Regions from separate parts of the Homo sapiens genome. Here region 2 is linked to region 1. The links are contacts of gene promoters, found by promoter capture Hi-C in blood cells and fetal thymus (Javierre and others, 2016). All regions are on one chromosome and are shown on one strand. The core of a region is centred on a gene start or on the middle of the fragment in contact, and the rest is flanking DNA. Distances in the headings are between cores, read along the strand shown.

What was found. Contacts are between HindIII fragments. The CHiCAGO score rates a contact against its expected background, and 5 or more counts as called.
Region 2: a fragment that was not itself captured here is called in contact with the fragment with the promoter of VHL in region 1 in 15 of 17 cell types (non-activated CD4 T cells, activated CD4 T cells, fetal thymus and 12 more); the score reaches 10.8 in non-activated CD4 T cells.

Annotation. Positions count from the first base shown.
Region 1 is chr3:10,137,802-10,143,027 of GRCh38, reverse strand. VHL (von Hippel-Lindau tumor suppressor) reads right to left here and starts at 1,250. Exons shown (of 3, transcript NM_000551.4): 1 at 841-1,250. The coding sequence starts at 1,180. It also overlaps the pseudogene LOC124906359. RefSeq lists an enhancer at 1-333. The HindIII fragment of the contact is 16,438 bases long and covers 1-5,226 here.
Region 2 is chr3:10,260,916-10,265,557 of GRCh38, reverse strand. All of the region lies in intron 3 of TATDN2 (TatD DNase domain containing 2), which reads right to left. Among named protein-coding and RNA genes, the nearest start is that of TATDN2, 15 kb to the right of the region's middle. RefSeq lists a silencer at 1,434-1,623. The HindIII fragment of the contact is 1,822 bases long and covers 1,288-3,109 here.

The DNA.
Region 1 (5,226 bases), core at 1-2,500:
TCTTACCTAGGGTTGGCTAGTTCCTACTCCATCCTGCTCTCTTCCTTCTCCGGGAAGTGCTCCTTAACTGAAACCACACAACCGCAACCCCTCCATCTCCCAGCAGGCAGGTAAGTCAATTTCCCACGCCACACACGGTCGGCTCTTCCGGCGCCAACATGACCCTGGCTTGTTCCTGTCTTTGCATCTGTCAGTCTCCCCAGGAGGAATGTGTTCTCCACGAGGGCAGGGACTACGCAGAACTGGCCCACTGGAGTCATGAGGACTGAACAGATGGGGTGTTAAGGATGCAGCTTTTCTTTGAGGGGAAAATACACGTGGGGTGGGGGACTGGGGGGAGCCACCTTCAAATGCAAACTATTCGGCCTTATAAAGAATGCTCTGGGCCGGGCGCGGAGGCTCATGCCCATAAGCCCAGCACTTTGGGAGGCCGAGGCGGGCGGATCACGAGGTCAGCAGTTCGAGACCAGCCTGACCAACATGGTGAAACCCCGTCTCTACTAAAAATATAAAAATCAGCCGGGCGCGGTGGCGCACGCCTGTAATCCCAGCTACTCAGGAGGCTGAGGCAGGAGAATCGCTTGAACCCGGGAGGCGGAGGCTGCAGTGAGTCGAGATCGCGCCACTGCACTCCAGCCTGGGCGACAGAGCGAGACTCCGTCTCAGAAAAAAAAAAAAAAAAAAAAGAATGCTCTGACGCTTACGAGCAGCGTCACCCTGGATGTGTCCTGCCTCAAGGGGCCTCAGTTCCCCGTCTGCAAAATGGACCCCGGGGCGGTAGAGGGGCTTCAGACCGTGCTATCGTCCCTGCTGGGTCGGGCCTAAGCGCCGGGCCCGTACCTCGGTAGCTGTGGATGCGGCGGCCCGTGCCAGGCGGCAGCGTTGGGTAGGGCTGCGGCTCGCCGTCGAAGTTGAGCCATACGGGCAGCACGACGCGCGGACTGCGATTGCAGAAGATGACCTGGGAGGGCTCGCGCGAGTTCACCGAGCGCAGCACGGGCCGCGGCCGCCCGGCCTCCATCTCCTCCTCGGCGCCCAGTTCCTCCGGGCCGGACTCTTCCGGGCCGGACTCCTCGGCGCCCGACTCCTCCCCGCCGTCTTCTTCAGGGCCGTACTCTTCGACGCCTGCCTCCTCCGCGCCTACCTCGGCCTCGTCCCAGTTCTCCGCCCTCCGGGGCATTCCCTCCGCGATCCAGACCACCCGGGCCGGACGCCGCGGGATCCGCGGGTCGGACGCGGGGCGGAGCTGCGTGCGCGCTCCCGAGTCGACCTCCGTAGTCTTCGCGCGCGCTCGGTAGAGGATGGAACGCGCTCGCGGAAATAGCCGGCCGGAGGCTGTGCGCGTGCGCAGAAGGATCCTCCAGCACCGTAGGCCGTTGTAACGGAGGCGAGGCTAGGCCAACTCGTTACTGTATTTCCACTATAAAATTTTTTTTCGCCCCTCTAAGGTTTGGTGTTTTTTTTTTTTTTGAGACAGGGTCTCACTCTGTCGCCCGGGCTGGAGTGCAGTGGCGCGAGCTTGGCTCACTGCAGCCTTGACCTCCCTGGCTCAAGCGATCGTCTCGCCTCAGCCTCCCGAGTAGTTGGTACTGTAGGCGCGCACCACCATGCCCGACTAATTATTTTTATTTGTTGTTTGAAACGGAGTCTCGCTATGTTGCCTAGGCTGGTCTCGAACTCCTGGGTTCAAGTGATCCTCCTGCCTTGGCCTCTCAAAGTGCAGGGATTACAGGCCTTAGCCACTGTGCCTGGTGGACTAACTGAATTTTTTTTTTCTTCATGTCAGACGCGCAATGTGCCGACGTCGTAACAAGGTTCGAGGGTGGCGCATCTCACACGGGAACACCCAATCATCACGCTTATAAAGTACAAAAAGTCAACTAACTGAATTCTTACAAGGCATGGGTGATTAGTAAAGAGGGAAAAATAATTAGACCTACTATGTGCAGAGCACTCTGGTGGAAATTGGAAAATCAGATATTTACTTCAGAGCAATTAAAACTACAAACATAAACACTCATTAACTTTGTTCATTTTACAAATATTTATTAAGGCCCTACTATGTACCACCTATGGTGATAAGTGTTGAAAATATTGTAAAAACCGGTCATGTTTCCTGCCTTCACTGCACTTCAATAAAAGCGTCATACGGTAATCAATCACACAAATAAAATAGCAACTATGGCCGGGTGCAGTGGCTCATGCCTGTAATCCCAGTACTTTGGGAGGCTGAAGTGGGCTGATCACAAGGTCAGGAGTTCTAGACCAGCCTGACAACATGGTGAAACCTCGTCTCTACTAAAAATACAAAAATTAGCCTGGCGTGGTGGTGCGCGCATGTAATCCCAGCTACTTAGGAGGCTGAGGCAGGAGAATTGCTTGAACCCGGGAGGCGGAGGTTGCAGTGAGCTGAGATTGTGCTACTGCACTGCAGCCTGGGTGACAGAATGAGACTCTGTCTCAAAAAAAAAAAAAAAAAAAGTGCAACTGTGACTAGTACGACAAAAAGAGACAGGGTACTATAGAAGGCTAAAGATCTGGGGGTCAAGGAAGATGGTACACAATTCTGTGTAATTAAATGTTCAATGATGTGGGATGGACTCAAGTGGAGAAGCAGCTCAGAAAAAGAAGGGTTCAGAGAGTTTTATATTAGTTAAAAATAATTTTTTTTTAGACAGTCTCGCTTTATCACCCAGGCTGGAGTGCAGTGGCTCAGTCTCAGCTCACTGCAACCTCCATCTGCCGAGTTCAAGTGATTATCGTGCCTCAGCCTCTGGAGTAGCTGGGATTACAGGTGTGTGCCACCACACCCAGGTAATTTTTGTACTTTTAGTAGAGACGGGGTTTCACCATGTTTGCCAGGCTGGTCTTGAACTCCTCACCTCAGGTAATCTGCCTGCCTTGGTTTTCCCAAGTGCTGGGATTACAGGTGTGAGCCACCGTGCCCAGCTCAAAAATAAATTTCAAGTAGAAAGAAAAAAATCTATCAAGTGCCAGACACTGTGCTAAGCATCCCACGTGAATTAAGGCTATGTCATTATCTCCATTTCACAGCTAAGGAAACAGAAGGGTATATAAGAATGTGAAGGCCTAGCACTATACGCCTGTAATCCCGAGATTTTGGGAGCCCAAGGCAGGTGGATCACTTGAGTTCAGGAGTTGGAACCAGCCTGGGCAACATAGCGAGGTCCTGTCTCTATAAAAAATGAAAGAATTAGCCAGGCATAGTGGCGTGCACCTGTAGTCCCAGCTACTCAGGAGGCTGAAGCAGGAGGATCACTTGAGCCTGGGAGGTTGAGGCTGCAGTAAGCCGTGATCATGCCACTGCACTCCAGCCTGGGCAACAGAGCCAGACTCTGTCTCAGAAAAAAAAAAAAATGTGAAAAGGGTAGTCAAAATGCTGGATCAGAGAGGCTCATCACCTGATGCCTTAGGAGAAAATGACAGTATGAGTGAACCTCAGGAGTTGGATATCTCCACAAAAGCACTGACACCATGAACCTAAGTAATTTTGCCTAGGGCTCTCCTTGACAGCTCACTGCACAGAGATGGTGTATCCTGGTGGCCTCCAGCAGGATTAAGTGACCAGCAGTGATGCTGGACCCCCAGCTACATTAACAACATGAAAACACTGTAGAGAAAAATCCCAAAGTAGGCCAGACGCAGTGGCTCATGCCTGTAATCCCAGCACTTTGGGAGGCCAAGGTGAGCAGATCACTTGAGGTCAGGAGTTTGTGACCAGCCTGGCCGACATGGTGAAATCCCATCTCTACTAAAAATACAAAAAATTAGCCAGCATGGTGGCCTGCGCCTGTAATCCCAGCTACTCGGGATGCTGAGGCAGGAGAATCACTTAAACCCCAGAGGCAGAGGTTGCAGTGAGCCCAGATAGCACCACTGCACTCCAGCCTGGGCAACAGAGTGAGACTCCACTCAAAAAATAAATAAATAATAAAAATAAGATAAACCCCAAAGTAGGACTTCTGTTAATCAAATTACAATGGCTTAGAGCCATCATAATTCACAAGATTCATGCAAACATCCCCTCAGTTGTACTCCCATGCTAGCGAGGTGAAATATAACAGTTTAATATTACAGAAATGCCTACATCCCTAAAATGAAACCAGTTGTTTAGATAAATGCAGGCTTTGAGACTGCAAATAATGTTTCAAAGATCATTTAAGAGGAAGGGGTGGCCAAGCACGGTGGCTTGTGCCTGTAATCCCGGCACTTTGGGAGGCCGAGGTGGGCGGATAACTTGAGCTGAGGAGCTCGACACTAGGCTGGGCGACATGATGAAATCCTGTCTCTACAAAAAATACAAAAAATTAGCCGGGCGTGGGTGCACCTGTAGTCCCAGCTGCTCAGGAGGCTGAGGCTGGAGGATCACCTGAGCTCAGGAAGGTCAAGGCTGCAGTGAACTGTGATCGCGACACTGCACTTTAGCCTGGGTAACAGAGCGAGACTCTGTCTCAAAAAAGAAAAAAGAAAAGAAAAAGTTGCAAAGGAAACAAGTTTAGAATACACAGGCAAAATTTTTCTTACAGTACACTTTTCATTAGGCAAAAAGACATGTAGAAAAGAATAAAAAATACAATGTCTAAAGACAACCGGTGGGCCGGGCGCAGTGGCTCACGCCTGTAATCCCAGCACTTTGTGAGGCCAAAGCAAGTGGATCACGAGGTCAAGAGATCAAGACCATCCTGGCTAACCCAGTGAAACCCTGTCTCCACTAAAAATACAAAAACAAAATTAGCCGGGCATGGTGGTGGGCGCCTGTAGTCCCAGCTACTCGGGAGGCTGAGGCGGGAGAATGGCATGAACCCGAGAGGCAGAGCTTGCAGTAAGCGGAGATGGCGCCACCGGACTCCAGCCTGGGCGACAGAGCGAGACTCCGTTTCAATAAATAAATAAAGACAACTGGTGACTTGTTCTATCTCCTTTTCTGTCTTTTCCAAATTTTCTCTAAGGGGGATATATTTTGCCTTGTTTGTATGTCGACCAATTAAAATATACAAGTACAATAATAAAGCAAATACTGATAATGTCACATGTAATTAGCATGTTGCCATATTTACTTCGTTTCCAGTTTTTGCAATGAGCTGAGATCGTGCCACTGCACTCCAGCCTGGGCGACAAAGCGAGACTCTGTCTCAAGAAAAAAAAAAAAACCAGAGTATCTTGTCACCCCCAAAACTCCTTCATGGTCAAACCCTGCTTCCACTG
Region 2 (4,642 bases), core at 949-3,448, 120 kb before region 1:
GGTGCACGCCACCATACCTGGCTAATTTTTTTGGATTTTTAGTAGAGACGGGGTTTCACCGTGTTAGCCAGGATGGTCTCGATCTCCTGACTTCATGATCCACCTGCCTCAGCCTCCCAAAGTGCTGGGATTACAGGCATGAGCCCCACGCCCAGCTAAAATTTTTAATTTTTAAAGTTCTGGCCGGGCGTGGTAGCTCATGCCTGTAATCCTAGCACTTTGGGAGGCCGAGGCAGGTGGATCACCTGAGGTCAGGAGTTCAAGACCAGCCTGACCAGCATGGTGAAATCCTGTCTCTGCTAAACATACAAAAATTAGCCAGGCATGGTGGTCCATGCCTGTAATCCCAGCTGCTCAGGAGGCTGAAACAGGAGAATTGCTTGAACCCAGGAGGCAGAGGTGGCAGTGAGCTGAGATCACACCACTGTATTTCAGCCTGGGCCACAGAGTGAGACTCTGTCTCAAAAAGACAAAAAAGAAAAAAAAATTGGCAGCAATAAAAAAAAAAAAAAACCACGCACAGGAAAAAAAAAAAAAAGACCAAAAAAAAAAAATCAACATAAACGTTAGAAGATAAACTTGAGCCAGGCGCGGTGGCTCACGCCTGTAATCCCAGCACTTTGGGAGGCCGAGGCGGATAGATCACCTGAGGTCAGGAGTTCGAGACCAGCCTGGCCAAAATGAAACCCCGTCCCTTCTAAAAATACAAAAATTAGACAGGCATGGTGGCATGCGCCTATAGTCCCAGCAATTCAGGGGTCTGAGGCGGGAGAATCGCTTGAACCTGGGAGGCAGGGGTTGCAGTGAACCAAGACCAAGCCATTGCACTCCAGCCTGGGTGGCAGAGTGAGACTCTATCTCAAAAAAAAAAAAAGAAGATAAAGTTGAAGAAACCATCCAGAAAAATTTTTTAAAAAGGATTCACTGGGAAGAAAAGAAAATTGGAATTTCCATCCGAAAGACCAAGCATAAAATAGATGGTCCAGAAAAAGAAGAAACAGACAAGAAATCAAATAATCAAGAAATTTTCCCAGAACTTTTCTAGGCTAAGGATGTACTGAACAAATTCGACTTATTTTACTCTTTCCTGAAACCTCACTAAAACTAAAGAATCTAAAAACCAAACAAAAAACAAATAAAACCCCTCTACAATAACAAAAACACCAGAACAGGAAGAACAAGAGACTACAGTGATCACGCACTGGAGGCTAGAAAGCAGATGGCCAAATAACACCTCACTGGCAGACCAAGAGAAGGCTGAGACCTAAGCTAGGCACCAGGAAAGCTTAGAACAGAGCAGGCACTCGCGGTACTGGGCACCTTGGGAACTGGAGGAACTGGAGTTACAGAAGAACATTAAAAGGAGGAGGACAGGGTGAAATCTGGTTTCCAATGAGTTAGATCCCAGATTCCCTCCTCATACTCAGAGAAGGTGAGTTGTTTGAAGACAGTAAAACAAGAGGATCTCTAGAATAAGGCCTGGTCAGCTCAGTGGAGGGCACTGGTACTGCACCAAAAAGACAAAGATTAAGTGAATGCTGACGCCGCCCCCGCAGCCGCCCCTTTCGCTACCCAGCTCCCAGCCACCTTTCCTCCTAAGCAGGCTGAAAAACACTCCTCTGGGCAAGGTGACCAGTCTCGAGGCTTTCCTAAAAGCAGTGACATGGCAAGGGGAAGAGGGTTATATTCTCCCGATCATCCCAAAGCAAAGCTCAAAGTCTTTACGCTCAGAGCTTCCAAACAGCTTTTTAATCCTCCCATTCTTGATCATAAACAGACAACCAAAGATTACCAGACATGTGAAGGCAGCCTCTAACACAGAAGAGATCAAAAGAAACGGAAAGAAGCAACTTAAAGAAAACTAAAACCAAGCCAAAAAACTACCATGAACTCCCTAAAAGAGATAACAGAAGATGAAACAAGAACAGAGATGTTATTAAAAAACAAAAGAGCTCTTGGATAATAAAAAGCATGACAGTAGAAAAGTAAAACTAAATAAACAGCTGGGTTGGAAGATAAAGAAAAGGAAATATCCTACAAAGTAAAGCAAGAAATTGGCTAGAAACAAGGGAGAAAGGCAATAAAATTACAGGACCAGTCCTGAAAAATCCAACATCCAAATAAGAGAAAGAAGGTAGAGAAGCTAGAGAGAGAAAGAGAGAAGAAAAATACGGAAAGAAAACATCAGCGAAGTACAGTAATTCACGAACTTTTCCCACAGCTAAAGTACAAGGGTTTCTAGATTGAAAGGGAATGTCCCATGCTAAGCAAAGTAGACACCACCACCATGAAATTTCAGAGCCCTGAGATCAAAATATATTCTACAAGATTCCACAGAGGGAAAAAAAAAAAAAATACAGGTTGGGCACGGTGGCTCACACCTGTAATCCCAGCACTTTGGGAGGCTGAGCCGGGCGGATCATGAGGTCAGGAGTTCGACACCAGCCTCACCAAAATGGTGAAACCCCATCTCTACTAAAAATACAAAAATTAGCCGGGTGTGGTGGCACATGCCTGTAATCCCAGCTACTCACAAGGCTGAGGCAGGAGAATCGCTTGAACCTGGGAGGTGAAGATTGCAGTGAGCTGAGATCACGCCACTGGACTCCAACCTGGGTGACAGAGCAAAACTCTGTCTCAAAGCAAAAGAAAATAAAAAATAAAAAATCATATACCAAGGTTCAGGAACCAGCATAGCTTCAGACATCAAGAAAACCAGAAGAGGCCAGGCGAAGTGGCTTACACCTGTAATCTCAGTACTTTGGGAAGCCTAGGCAGGTGGATCACCTCAGGTCAGAAGTTTGAGACCAGCCTGGCCAACATGATGAAACTCTGTCTCTACCAAAAATACAAAATTAGCCAGGTGTGGTGGCGTGTGCCTGTAATCCCAGCTACTCGGGAGGCTGAGACAGGAGAATCACTTGAACCCAGGAAGTGGAGGCTGCAGTGAGCCAAGATCACACCAGTGCACTCCAGCCTGGGCAAGACAGAACGAGACTCCACCTCAAAAAAAAAAAAAAAAAAAAAAAAGCCCAGAAGAAAAGGAGCAATGCCTTCAAAATCCCAAACAAAACAATTTCCAACCTGGAATTCCAAAACCAACCAAGCTTGTAATCAAGGTTAAAGGTAAAATAAAGGCAATCTCAGACACATGTTTACCAAAAAAAGTTTCTCCATGTACCCTTTCTCAAGAAGCTACTAGAAAAAGTATTCCACCAAAATGTGAGAGTAAACCAAGGAAGAAGAACATGAGAAGACACAGAGTATAGGTAGCAGAAGACTCAATCCGGGAGAAATGTGAAGGAGGCTCCAGAGAGACAGCTGCCAGCTGGCCTGACGGCAGGCAGTCCAGACCAGAGCAGGACAACAGAGGGCTGAGGACGTATACCTCCAAGAGAGAAAAAAAAGAAACAGATTCCTTATTTTGACAGTATTGAGAAGGATTTTACAGCTCTCGCAGTTTGGGGATTAATTAGTGAAAGGTACCAGGAAAACCAAAGGAAAAACAAAGTAATGATGAACTTTAAGGAAAATGAAGTTTTACAAGAAAGAAAATGTGATCAGAGTATACAAGGCGACTCAGCTGTGAACATGGCAGTAACAAATCTTACACAGACTTAACCCAAAAGGTATTCAAGCCACACAGGGAGGCTGCAGAAAGGGGAAGCTAATGTGTCCCTGGGTGTGGGTGCTTCTGAAGGAGGTATAGAGAACTAAATTCTCATCGCCCAAGCAAGAAGTCCTCAGACATCTAAAACTGAAAAACTGATCAACAGTAAAGATTATTTAGAAACATGGGGTAAGTACTAGAAGAAAGAGCTAAAGATGAGAGAAGCTGCCTGCAGAGCAGTAGTAAAGGATGGGTGGAGACGAGTAAGATGGAGGAATGTGGCCTGGCACAGTGGCTCATGCCTGTAATCCCGGCACTTTGGGAGGCCAAGGCAGGTGGATCACGAGGTCAGGAGTTCGAGACCAGCCTGGCCAACATGGAGAAATCCCATATCTACTAAAAATACAAAAATTAGCCGGTTTGGTGGCGCACACCTGTAATCCCAGCTACTCAGGAGGCTGAGGCAGGAGAATTGCTTGAACCCAGGAGGTGGAGGTTGCAGTGAGCCAAGATTGCACCATCGCACTCCAGCCTGGGCAACAGAGCAAGACTCTGTCCCAACAACAAAAAAAAAAAAAAAAAGAAAAAGATGGAGGAATGCTTCCCCTCAATTATAAGCTATGTTAAAAATCACTAGTTTCCGTCCAATGACATCCTTCCCTTCTTCTCTGGTTATCCAGGTACAAGTCTGCCTAGATAAAGGCTGATTTTCCAGACTCCCTTGCAGCCAGGTGTCAGCCGGGTTTCCCCGCTCTTGTCAACAGCAGATACAACATGTGCAACTCTTGAGCCAAGCTCTTAACAGGGAAGGAATGCACTCTCCTCTTCTCCCCTTCCCACTGGCCAGAATGCCCAGATAACAAACCCTGAGTCCTATCAGAGTATCCATTTCACACCAAGAGATGGACACTGTGTTGAGGGGTGATAGAGAATCAAGACAAAAGGTACCAGTATCTCTGACATGATGGAGCCATCCTTCTTAAGCCAAACTTATATTCTGTTTAAGCCACTGTGATTTTGGCCTTTTACACA